2 separate regions of the Homo sapiens genome follow, and region 2 is linked to region 1. Evidence: promoter capture Hi-C in human tissues and cell types (Jung and others, 2019). All regions are on one chromosome and are shown on one strand. The core of a region is centred on a gene start or on the middle of the fragment in contact, and the rest is flanking DNA. Distances in the headings are between cores, read along the strand shown.

Evidence for each region. Contacts are between HindIII fragments. The study calls those that stand out against the background at their distance.
Region 2: a contact is called between a fragment that was not itself captured here and the fragment with the promoter of CDH6 in region 1, in 1 of the 25 tissues and cell types used here (aorta).

The regions. Positions count from the first base shown.
Region 1 is chr5:31,190,447-31,196,705 of GRCh38, reverse strand. It overlaps CDH6 (cadherin 6), which reads right to left and starts at 3,020. Exons shown (of 12, transcript NM_004932.4): 1 at 2,820-3,020. The HindIII fragment of the contact is 7,217 bases long and covers 1-6,259 here.
Region 2 is chr5:31,227,848-31,234,106 of GRCh38, reverse strand. All of the region lies in intron 1 of CDH6 (cadherin 6), which reads right to left. Among named protein-coding and RNA genes, the nearest start is that of CDH6, 37 kb to the right of the region's middle. The HindIII fragment of the contact is 4,132 bases long and covers 1,290-5,421 here.

The sequences.
Region 1 (6,259 bases), core at 1,771-4,270:
AATAATAGCAATAATGATTTGACCTGTCACAAATATTAAGATAGTGCTTAGAGAATACTAACTTGTCTACAGAGAAAAAGTTGTTATACTCTTATCTTAGGTAACAAAATCCATTCTGCAGCTGAACTCCAGGGAGAAATGCATGGAGTGACCCACTAGAGGTCCCTTCCAACTAAAAAAAGTTTGAATAGTTCAAAGGATTCAGCCTTAGTGTGTTGGCATTCGTGACTGCAAAGCAACTACCGGGCCAGAAGGGGGGACCACACATTTCAATTCCTTAGGAAGATTGTAGTTTCACTCAGAATATTGGTCACATTTCATTCCTTTTAAAGAAATCTCTGTGGGACATTCACTCAATTAGTCCTAATTTTCAGATTTGGTGCTATAATAATACAGTATCATATAATACCCTGTGACTGTAGCTGTGCTTTCTAGAAAATTTTTAGCTGTTTTCAAGTGTCTCGAGCAGTATTTTGCAAGGTACATTTTTTCTTAAAAAGGAAGAGTGCCTCACTAAGTTTTTCCTTGCAAAGCTGATGGAAGTGGTGGGTGGAAGAGGTAGGGTACACGTTTTTTGATAGTAGGCAACTTGGTAGAAAATGATTATGTTTCCATATATTATCTTTGCAGAGTTAGCAGTACAAAATGTAAGTGCAATAAATTGGTGTAAAAGCCAGATAGTAAAGGGACTAAAAGTCCCTATGGAGATACCAAACTGTCACTTTCTTGTAATGGTAGCAAAAGATAATTGTAGACACAAATACAGTAGAACTGAATTGGCACCATTTTCCTTCAAAATTGGGCTGCTGCCTCTTAGTTTTTCTGAAGAAATTGGTTACTTCCTCTGCTTCAAAAGTATGGCATGAACCATTACATTAGGTGGGAAAAGATCTGTCTTTTATTTTCCTTCAGTACCTTTTTAATTAGAACACATCAAAGAGCAAAAGGGGATGAGATACAACCCTATGTGATTGCATTTTCCAGTCAATTGTTGGGTTTCTTTTAAGTTTCTGAGCTCTGCATTGACAATCTGGCCTCTGGCATAAACTTTACCCTCCTGGTTATGACATAATGAAGACATCTGCTCAAGCATACCCCTTTCTTCACACAACTGGTTTTACGGTTCTCTAAAATGCAAGCATAGAGCCGTGCAAGTACTATTACACACGGGATGATGCTCAAGTCTCAGGTGAAACTGGAAGAGATTTTTTTTCTCTCTCTCAAAGTAAAATCCTAAGGGTTTTCCTTTTCAGGTAAAGCTTTCAGCAAGAAAAGAAAGGAAATAAGCAACCCTTGGCACTATTCATATAAGCATATTTGTTAGTCCTTCTTGGAAGAGTTGTACATTAACTAGGCATATCCCTGGGTTCCTTTTTCCAACACAGGGAGGAGTTTGCAACCCCCTGGATAATTAACCACTCAGAAAGCCCACATTTTGATCTGCACCCCTCCAGAGCAGCCATATATGTACACAACAGCCACTCCTGCAACATTCTTGCAGGGAAAACCTCTTCCTTCTTTCCCACTGTGTGCTTTACGAAGTGAAAGTGAAGATTCGCAGAGACACGGTCTGATACACCTCTATAGTATGACTATCATCATTTAAATTTTTTTTTTTTTTAATGGGAGTAGGAGACAGAAATGTGTGGCTATTCCAGATGATTAAACTTCTTGGTTCTTGAATGTTCTGAGTCATAGTTAACTCAGGTGGCCAGCCCTTTGCACTGACAGAGACCTGCATTTAACTCCCCATAAAATATGGATTTTATTGCAGCAGTGACACTTCTTAGCACCACGCTGACCTCTCCAGCATCTCCCATCTCGAGATCTACGGTAACTCATGACAGAATATCTAACTACGGAAGAAGTAATCTCAGCTCTGCAACTGCTGCAGTCCACAACATTGCAGCGTCCCTTTTTATTAAATTCTGGGATTAACGCATTGGGGGCTCCAATTTTCCAGCATCTGGCACCGAAAACCAAGCGCACTCCAACCACTCTCCAATCAGTCCGGGGAAGGCTTTATCCCCCAGATTTGAGCCTGGCCAGCCGTGGAGGAGCACGAGCGAACTGCGCCTTCCATATGACTTTTCCCTGGACAGTGTGCTCCATTTTCGGAGTCCAGTGTTGGACTTTCCTTGCAACCTAAGCATTTCTGTCCTAGATGAGCCGGCAGGCGTTGCCCGGAACGTGCAAGCTAACAGTTTTCTTTAGCTCCTTCTACCAGCCAAATCGTCTCTTTAGTTTAAGTTTTCCTTACTGGGAGCATTCCAGAGTTTTCAGACTACCTGATTTTCTGCTTTACCCCAAAAGCTAAGAAATGTAACTCAGCCCAAGCAGTCACCACGCAGACCCTTATGATGCGGGCAGGTGGAGATAAATCAAGCCCCAAACGGCTCGGCGGGACCTGCACGCACCAGCGCCCTTTGGTAATTGACCAGCCAACTTTGCAAATGCCAGAGCTCCCCTGGCAGCCTCTGCCGGCGTAGAGAAAGGCAGCGGGTTCTTCTGCGGCGGCCCGCTTCCCGGTGCCCCCACCCAGCCCCACGGCGGATCGGTCTTACCAGGAGGCGGAGGAGCGGTGCCCAGGCTCCCCGGGAAGCGGCGTCGGTCCTGAGCAGCGGCAGCAGCGCCGCCCGCGCAGCCGGACCCGCGCGCCCGCCCCGACCCGGGCTCGCAGGCTGAGAGCATCCCTCCCAACTCCGGCGCGGCACCCACCGGGCGGAGAGGGCTCTCTCTCTGATTGGCTTCTATCAACGCTACAGAATTAAAAAAAAAAAAAGGGAGATGTATGCATAGCCAACGGAGCCCGAACCCACCTCTGCTCGCCTTCCTGCGCCCGCGGAGACCCTGCGACCCGCCCAGGCTGCTCCTGCCTCCGCCGCCGCCGCCGCCGCGGTCGCCGGCTCTGCCGTTCTTGCTGTCGCGGCTGAAACTGCAGCTCTTGGGATGCGAAGGTTACGGGCTCGGGAGAGCTGGCTCTTGTGGGCACACACTGATTTGCAAGTGAATGAAGTGGGAGGGAGCAAAGAGAGGAGGACTTTGTTAAAGAGGCCCAGTGCCTGCCCCCGCCCGCCCCCTCCCCTTGACAGAATGACTCCCAGTGTTTGAAGTCCTGAGCAATTCGCTCCCTGGAACACTCCTTCAGCCCCAGGCTTTCCCTTGCTTTCTTTCTTTCTTTCTTTCTTTCTTTTTTTTGTTGGAGGGGGTTTAAGATATACTCAGAACTTGTATGACTCCGTCTGTTTCCTCTTTTGTACTATCAAAATGCACCTTGTGCTATTATCAGCAATGGTCTGATGTTCTTTTTTTTTCACCGACCAAGCAATTACAATTCCCAGGGACACAGTACCTCGTCACTCTATCAGTTGGCCAGCTTCGTGTGATAGCACGTATAACATGCACACACATAAAACAAGCCGGTCTCCTGAGATGACAATACCGATGGCTTTTCTTTACAACATAAACAGGCGTTCTCCAGATGCAAGCAGACATGGATAGATTCATACATGTCTTTCCTTCTCTCCTCCCAGGAAGACACGCTTTCACGTAGCCCCATGATCTCTGTTACTCTTTTGGAGTGACCCCAGGATGTCGTAGCATGAAGCCATGCTTCCCTGGGCTTGCAGAAACACTGAAAACCCAAACCCTTCAGGCTTGCCAATGACTTATGACTGATGCCATCGTTCTAAATGAATTGATACAAGCATACAAAAGACTTGCAGAAGAGGGGTGTACAATGATATTCAAGGTCTGCTTAACGTTCGAAGATCCTTCTGGAAAGTTGCCGAAGTTGGATAACCTTCAAATTAAACTCTTTAGTACACATAGCTGTTTGAATGGCTAGATTGATAGTTACAAAGAGGTAATATCTAATGTTAAGGTACTAAGCCACAAAAATGTGAAACATGTCAAAGTACCATTAAATGAGAGTAATGATTTTCTACATAGGAGACATAGGCATGATGGAGTCAGCCACTGTTGGATTAGGAAAATTAAATCTAATTACCACAGTGATTGCACCCAGGGTCACTAGCCTCCCAAACCAGCTGTTCGCCTGTGCTGCAAGTTCTCAGGGAGATTTCCATTGCACAGAGCTCTAAGAAATGCCAGGCTGCTTGGCCTCTGAGTAGTTAAACTGGCTGGAGGTTGGTCCTGTTCCCAACTGAGCTCTTACTAGAAAACCTTTTGTTTCTCCAATAGAAGTTCAGGCATTTAAATAAAGCCCAAATCAAAAGTATTCCTTTAGGCAGCCAGTGCTTCAAAGAAGTGTGCATGGAATGGTTTTAGCACAGATGTTCTGCACATGGAAGATGGAAAGATTTGAGTTTCTTTCTGGAAAAGACCTTCCCCAAATGAAGAATTGCTACCAATTTGTGAGAAGAGGCTGAACATTTTCTTTTTATAGAGCTCTTTAAACACGTATGAAGTAAGAATGGGGGAGAAGAAAGCTGCTTTAGATTCATAGTCCATTCGTCAGATTATGAATTTCTTATACATTTAATTGGAAATATTAGCTCTGTGTGTCTGTGTAGTCCTTTACTGTTTACAAAGTACTTTTGTAGACTATTTTATTTAATTCATCCTTCAATAAGTGGTGTCATATTTTCCCAATTAAGACAGAGAAAACAGACTGATGAAGAGACAACAGAAGTTACATAACATGTCCAAGGCAGTGAAACTGGAACACACAAGAAGCAGAAATATTATTGGTAAAAGGGTGTGCAGGTGTGTATGCAGACATAGAGACCCACAGATTATATGTACAGGTATAATTTATTAGCATATGTGGTAGTAGGATAATACATGAATACATAATACGTAAATATGTCAATAAAATAAGTCATATTTTAAGACCACCTTTAGCAGAAAAAATGTGCAAATTGGCTGATTTTTATGGTAGAAGAGGGTTGATAGTGAAGTTGATTTTCTGTCTGTTGAACCAGTTAATATCTCACAAAGGAAACCTCTAATTGTTTGCAATATACTATTCTTCAAACCCCATTAAGCTACATGTCAAAGGTGTTTAGAACAACAACTGTATGAGTGGACAATCCGTTTGCTTCTGAACAGTTCAGGTGGCAGCATGAAATTATATAAAAGACAGCTCTTGTACTAAAGGATTTTATGTGATTTTTGAGGCTTTCTAGTAATATTTGTCACAATAATTATTCATCTTCAAATACAGGATTGATGTAAATATCTAGAATTATTTTACCCTCATTTCAGAGACTAGGAACTGAGAGTTACTGAGGCTAAATGATTACTTGGAGTTGTGTAAGTTCTGTTTCTGGTTTGTTCTCTATCATCACACCAAAACATGTTGGCAAGTAACAGTAGCCCATCAGAGATAGTTAAGCAAATGAAGAGGTATGTGTCATTATTGTATAGGGTTTCTCCTGAAAGTTAAGGGTGGAAATTCTGCAGAGTCTCTGGAAAGGCCCAGGGGCAGGCCCGGAGAAGCCGCCAGCATTCTTCCCCTAGCTCTATCTCCTCCTCAGGACACTTCTGCTTTCCTTTTGTCTCCATTCACACCTGCCTCCTTCATCCTCCAGTCCACAGGGCAGAACAGCACCCCAACAGTTCCAGAGCTTACCTGTCGAAAAGAGGGCTTCTCTTTCAGCCCCCTTTCTAATTTCTTAGAAAATGGCCCTGACGCCCGGCACGGTGGCTCAAGCCTGTAATCTCAGCCCTTTGGGAGGCCAAGGCAGGAGGATCATTTGAGGTCAGGAGTTTGAGACCAGCCTGGCCAACATGGTGAAACCCTGTCTCTACTAAAAATACAAAAAAATGTAGCCGGGTGTGGTGGTGCGCCCCTGTAATCCCAGCTACTTGGGAGGCTGAGGTGGGAGAATTGCTTGAACCCAGGAGGCAGAGGTTGCAGTGGGCCAAGATTGCACCACTGCACTCCAGCCTGGGCCACAGAGTGAGACGCTGTCTCAAAAAAAAAAAAAAAAAAAAAAAAAAAAGAGAGAGAGAAAAGAAAATGACCCTGATTGGTCCGGTACTGTCTTGGACCCATCAGCTGGGGCTAGCACCCCCAGGACCAAATAGAGGGGGGAGCATTTAAGGAGTGTCCTTATATCCTGGGAAGACAATCCAGAAAGTGTCCTGTTCCCCAATTCTCTTGTTTTGTTCAGTAGTTTGGTACAGCTGAAACATCTCATCAGTTTTTAGGCTACTTCATTACTTTAGATGCCTCAGTCAAAATTACTGGTGCTTCTCTCCTTTTACAGCTTGCAAAGTTTCAATTTCTTTT
Region 2 (6,259 bases), core at 2,106-4,605, 37 kb before region 1:
TACTTAGTCAAAGTATTAAGAACACACTTTAAACAGAAAAACATTATGAAAAAAATGTATTTGAGATATAGACTATTATCACAATTTTTCATTTGTTCAAAAGCCATCAGAATGGAACATGTAATAATTCAATCATTCACTGAGAATTATCTTTTGAGTTCCTAACATGTCCTGCCTCATGGAATTTACGTTCTAGTAGAGGAGACACACTCGAAGCAAGTGAATGATAGTCAGGTAATATATTTTTGAATCATTGGTGAGGCCTATGGAGGTAAAGTGGAATGGGTAAAGGGATGCTGAGTAGTAGAGAGTGAGGCGGTGGGTGTTTTATAAAGTCAAGGAGGACCTCTCCGTGAAGAAACTGGAATCATGACAATGAGCCAGTCATGGGAAGAACTGGCGGAAGTTTCCAGTAGAAAAAACAGCAAATGTCGTAGCCACACAGGAAAGAAACTTTCAATGGTCTTAATGAAGCAAGGTCAGAGTAAGTGAATTAGAGTAAGAGATGAGATGACCAGAAATTTTAATGAGTAATGATAAGCAATAACAAGGAAATATGATAAGCAAAGTTTTTGTTTTGTTTTTTTTTTTTGAGACAGAGTCCCACTCTGTCATGCCAGCTGGAGTGCAGTGGCATGATCTTGGCTCATGGCAACCTCCACCTCCCAGGCTCAAGCGATCCTCCCACCTCGGCCTCCTGAGTAGCTGGGACTACAGGTGTGCACAACTATGCCCGGTTAATTTTTGTATTTTTTTTTTTTTTGTAGAGACGGGGCATTGCCATGTTGCCCAGGTTGGATAAGTAAAGTTTTTAAAGCTTTGATTAAAATGTTTGTAATTTATCTCTCTTCTCTTTTAGCTTTTATACTTTATTTTTTTGTGTAAAATATGCTCCTTATAATATATACTCTCTGTATGTGTATATGTGTGCATTTGTGTGTATATGTGTGTGGATGTGTAACATGTGAAGGCGTATGTGCATATATAAGTGTGTTTATAGAGATATGTCTATGTACGCGTGTGTGTGTATTTGTATATTCAGTTGTTCATTGCATGGTAAGAAACAGCATGATATAGTGAACTTTGGGCTGCCTGGGTTTGCACACTGGCTCTTCCATATTCTAGCTCTGCAACCTTTGAAAGGTTATTTAACTTCTCTGTGACTCAGTTTCTTCATCTGTACAACGGGGAGTATTAAAGGACCTATTTTGGAGGAATGTTGTGAGGATGAAATGAATTAATATATGGAAAACTCTTAGAACAATGCCTGGTGTATGGTACATGTGGCAATAGCATAAGTGCCATATAAGTGTTGCATTTATAATTTCCTCAACAGATAACATTTTATCCAAATGAATAGATGATATTGTAATTAATAATTCCAAGTTACATTCTCACAAGCAAAACCAATAACTAAAAAGCCTGACTTGATATGTTTTCATTGGCCACTCAAATCCATTTGCTTTGCAAACTTGTTTGAACTTTTCTTTCTTTTCAGAATATTTTTAGCTTAAAGAGGAAACTACTTATGTTTCTAAATTGGGACAGTTAAATACTCCTGTCCTGGACCGAGGGTGCAGCCAAAAACGTTTTGTAGAGATTAAGGGTGCATTAAACGTATGTCCACTTGAGGGAGCTCTAAGATTCCTCCAAAGCCTGGGTCTTAGAGTCTAACCAGGCTGGAGGCAGCACCTATGACACTGGGTTGGGTTAGTGGAAGAAAAATGTGGAAGAAAAATTTAAAACGTCCAGAATGAAAGCTTGGAAAATAAAGTGCAGGGTAGTAAAACTGATAATTATTTTACTGTTTTCCAGTTATGTATTTAATTGAGGGGAACAGAAACACTTTTTTGAGAACTTCAAACGGCTCAGCTGGAAGCACAGGAATTAGCATAAAGTGAAATATTTATGGGAGCTTAATACTGTTTAAGACTCATTTTCTCCTTGCCTTAAGACATGAAGTCAAATTAACCATTTCTAATTAAAGAGTGAGAAACAAAGTAGTGTAAGACCAGAAGTAGAAGCTAAATGGTGATGCCTAAGTTGTGAAGTCTGAAACAGTCACTTGACATAGAGGTCAAGAATGGGAAGATACAAAATAATTCCTGCAGAACAAGAGAAACAAATCAGGGTGATTTGAAAAGAAACATAATTATAGTAGGCTTACTCTACTCCTTAAGTGAATATTTTTCTTCTAAGAGCAAAGGTCTAAAACTGGACATGGTAATGCCCTTTTATCTCTTTATGTTAGAGGCTGAGCTACAGAGGAAGTGCTATGGTTTGAATATTTATCCCCTCCAAAACTTATGTTGAAATTTAATCCCCAGTGTGGCATTATTGAGACGTGGGACCTTTAAGAGGTTCATGCATGGATTAATGGATTAATGAAATAGTGGGTTAATGAATTAGTGAGTTATCATGGGGAGTAAAGCTGGAGGCTTTATAAGAAGAGGAAGAAAGATCTGAGCTAGCACACTCAGCCTCCTTGCCATGTGGTGGCCTGTGCCACCTTGGGACTCTGCATAGAGTCTCTACCAGCAAGAAAGCCCTCACCAGATATGTCCCCTTGACCTTGGACTTCTCAGCTCTCCAAATTGTAGAAATAAATTCCTTTTCTTTATAAATTACCCAGTTTCAGGCATTCTGTTACGAGCAACAGAAAATGGACTGAGACAGGAAGCGTCCATGAAATATTCAAAATAAGCTGGAACTGCTTTAAATATGATTCATGGGAATTCTGACCCCGCCAAACAGTAATCTGTTAAGGATACTAAAAAGGAAAGAAATTCCCAAAGGGCAAGGAAGACAAAATCCTGGGAATTTCAGGCCAGTCTTTTTCTCCTTATTGCTAAACCACTATGGAGATACGCAATGATTTGATTAAAATATCAATTTTATGCACATAATTTAATTTTAATTGCATCGTGAGTAATCTGTTAAAAAGAGTTTGAACATTTGGCCTCTAAATCATTATAGGCTGAATCACCCTAAGATGAAAATAAGGCAGTGAAGACTGTTATCCAGAAGAAAAGAAAAATATTGCATTTGAATATACTTTCAACAAATGAAAACTATAATTAAAATATAATCATGTGATTAGAAGAATATTTAAAAGAGCATATTGTGTTTCCTGCATATTTTTATATGTGTAGGTTTTACATTTTAAAGAGTTTGTTCGTCTTAACATGGATTTAAGCATTTTGCATAAAGATTCACACTAATCTTTTCATTCACAGTTCATGAAGTCCCCTACAATTGTTTATTAATTAGCATATAATATTTTTACCTGGATGCTATACTGTATTGTTTAGCTTCTTTTGTATACATCTCTAATTTCTCTTTAGAATTATTTTGAGTTTGATTAAACTCAATGGATTTGTTGTTCTACTTGAGGACACAATCAAGATTATTCTGCAGATGGTTTCTAAATCATAGGTTAGTTTTTAAAAAAATAGCATTTTCATTTTTGCACGGAGGATTTGTTTCTCTTTGCTTTGCCTATAAGTTTCTTTTCTCATTTTTCACTGAGTACATTACTCATGGTCTTAAACATCTTCCGCTGCTTTCTTAAAGATGCAACAGGAAGATACATCTGTAGAGGAGGCCTAATGCTTCTGAATTCTCTGTTAATAAATACACTGGAAGTGTATTTTAACGGTGTTTAACATAAATACTTTAATACATACTCTCAGAGACTCTTTTTCTAGTAAGTGAAGGAAAATGAGCCAGACTTTTAAAAAAAGATATTCTCTGCCTGTGATGGTTATACAGACAAACCTGTGTATGATCCCCTAGTGAGTTCTCTATGTCTTTGGAGAAGTCATCTACAGGACAGAGATGACTTTTCTCCCATGCAAGTTAAGTTGATCTTTTAATTTGCAATGGTAGACCCTAAATATCACCTTGAGTGAGAACCTGCAGGAATTCAGAGGCCCTCAACTTCTTAACTGCTGTGTCTAAATTGGGACTTCAGGGCTCTTTCTGTGCCAAAGAGAAAGCAAATTCTCTTCAACTGGGATATTCTGCAAGGAGCGGAATCACTGTTATTTTGACTTTGTTGTTCAGACACGCCACAGTGGCAGCAGAAATAGCATCCGCCAATTAAACGCCCATACAGCATTCAAAGGATATGGAAGATAGAATTTAATTATGAAACAGATGACACTACTCAATCTTAATTGTCATACCAGGATCCAAGTCACTGGCCTGATAATCACCAGCCAGGAGAATGGAGAGCAAAGTCCCTTACGTCACCAAGGGCAAAAAGCCTCAGCCCGTAATTATGCTGCTCCTTAATAATCCCAATTAAGAGCAACAACAACAAAAACACAAAACTTCTTCCTATGTTCTGTGACATTAAGTACTGAGAAATGTTTATTCAGCTACTATGATGGTCCACAATTGCATTTCTCTTTGTCATAATTCATTCTTTCACTAAAAAATCCTTAGGTGGGACTCCGGAGTTTCTTGAATTCTCACAAGTGTTTTCAGAGTTAGAATTCTTTTTACATAAAAAAATTAACCACTTATTGGTTTAGCCAATAATATCAGGGGAACTAGAGACCTATAAAAGCTTCCAAATTGGCACCAGCCATACAGTCGTAAGAGCCAAGCTGCCTTAACAACTTGTTACAAATGCCTAACAGCTCCAGAGAGAAAATATTTTCCTGAGCCTCCAGTTCCTCATTCTGTTTTGCTTTTCTGCAAACTTCACAAAGATAACAGGCAATATGCTTCATTTCCTACCCTCCAATCTATTTTGGCCAAACATTTAATTTCTAACCAGTATGGTGACCAGAACTGGATAACAAGAGGTCTGTTAGCCAGGGTAGTAAAGCACCAGATTTGGAGTCAAACCAGTAGGCTTGCAGTCTTTGTTTTGCCCTTTCTTCCTTTATCACTGACTGAGTCTCTTCACCTTGATCGGACTCAGGTTTTGGAGAATCGGGTAGAGCTTGAGGGCTGTGTTGTAGATTAAATAAAATGATATAGTTTGGGCAGTTGGTACCCTTGGAAATGGCACGCAAGTGCTAGTTAGTATGACGGGTAATTAGACCTGTCAGTGTCAGAATGGAGAAAGAACTAACCTGTATTGAACATCTACTAAGAGTCTATCATTATATAAGGTACTTTTGTACTTTTTATGCCCTATGAGAGATGCATTATTTTCCCCACATTACAGGAAAGGAAATAAATCTTGGAGAGATCAAATAACATGCCTAAGATCAGGGGTTCCCCAACCTCTGGGGCCATGGACCAGTACCAGTCTGCAGCCTGTTAGGAACCCGGCCACACAGCAGGAGGTGAGTGGCAGGTGAACCAGCATTGTAGCCTGAGCTCCGCCTCCTGTATTAGAGGCATTAGATTCTCATAGGAGGGCGAACCCTATTGTGAACTGCGCATGTGAGGGATGCAGGTTGCGTGCTCCTTATGAGTATGTAGCTAACGCATGATGATCTGAGGTGGGACAGTTTCATCCTGAAACCATATCCTCTGCTCACCCCACCACATCTGTGGAAAAATTTTCTTCCACAAAACCAGTTCCTAGTGCCAAAAAGGTTGGGGACCACTGCCTAGGATTGTACAACTGGGTTATTGGCAAAGCTGGGGTGGGAGTCCATGGGTGTCTGACCCTGGGACATACTTTTCTCCATTCCACAAAGTTTGGAATCAAGGTGAATGCAGCTTCCTTCTCCAGCTGATTCACTTCCTGAACCTTGGCACTGGGGATCTGCAGCAGGCAGAACAAAGGCCTTCCAAATATGCCCACGTCCCAATCCACAGAACTATGTTATTAATACCTCACATGGCAAAAGAGACCGCAGATATGGTTAAGGATCTTGAGCTGTGGAGATTATCCTGGATCATCTGGGTGGGTCCAATATAACCACAAAGGTCCTTAGACCTTAAAAGAGGGAGGCAGGTGGGTCAGAGAAGATGGGACAGTGAGGCATGAGTCCGAGACAAAGAGAGAGAGATTTAAACATGCTACACTGTTGGCTTTGAAAATGGCGGAAGGGGCCAAGAAAACAGGTGACCTCTGGAAGCTGGGGATGGTAAGGAAGTGGCTTCTCCTCTAGAGCCTGTAGAAAGAACACAAGCACACCGACAGGCTGATTTTTAGCCCACTGTAATCACCTCTGACCTCTGACCTATAAATCTGTACGAGAATAAGTTTGTATTGTTTTGTGGTAATGTGTTTTGTGGTGTGCGTTGCAGCAGCAAGAAGCAACTAATACTGGTTCCTTGTCTTTTCTGG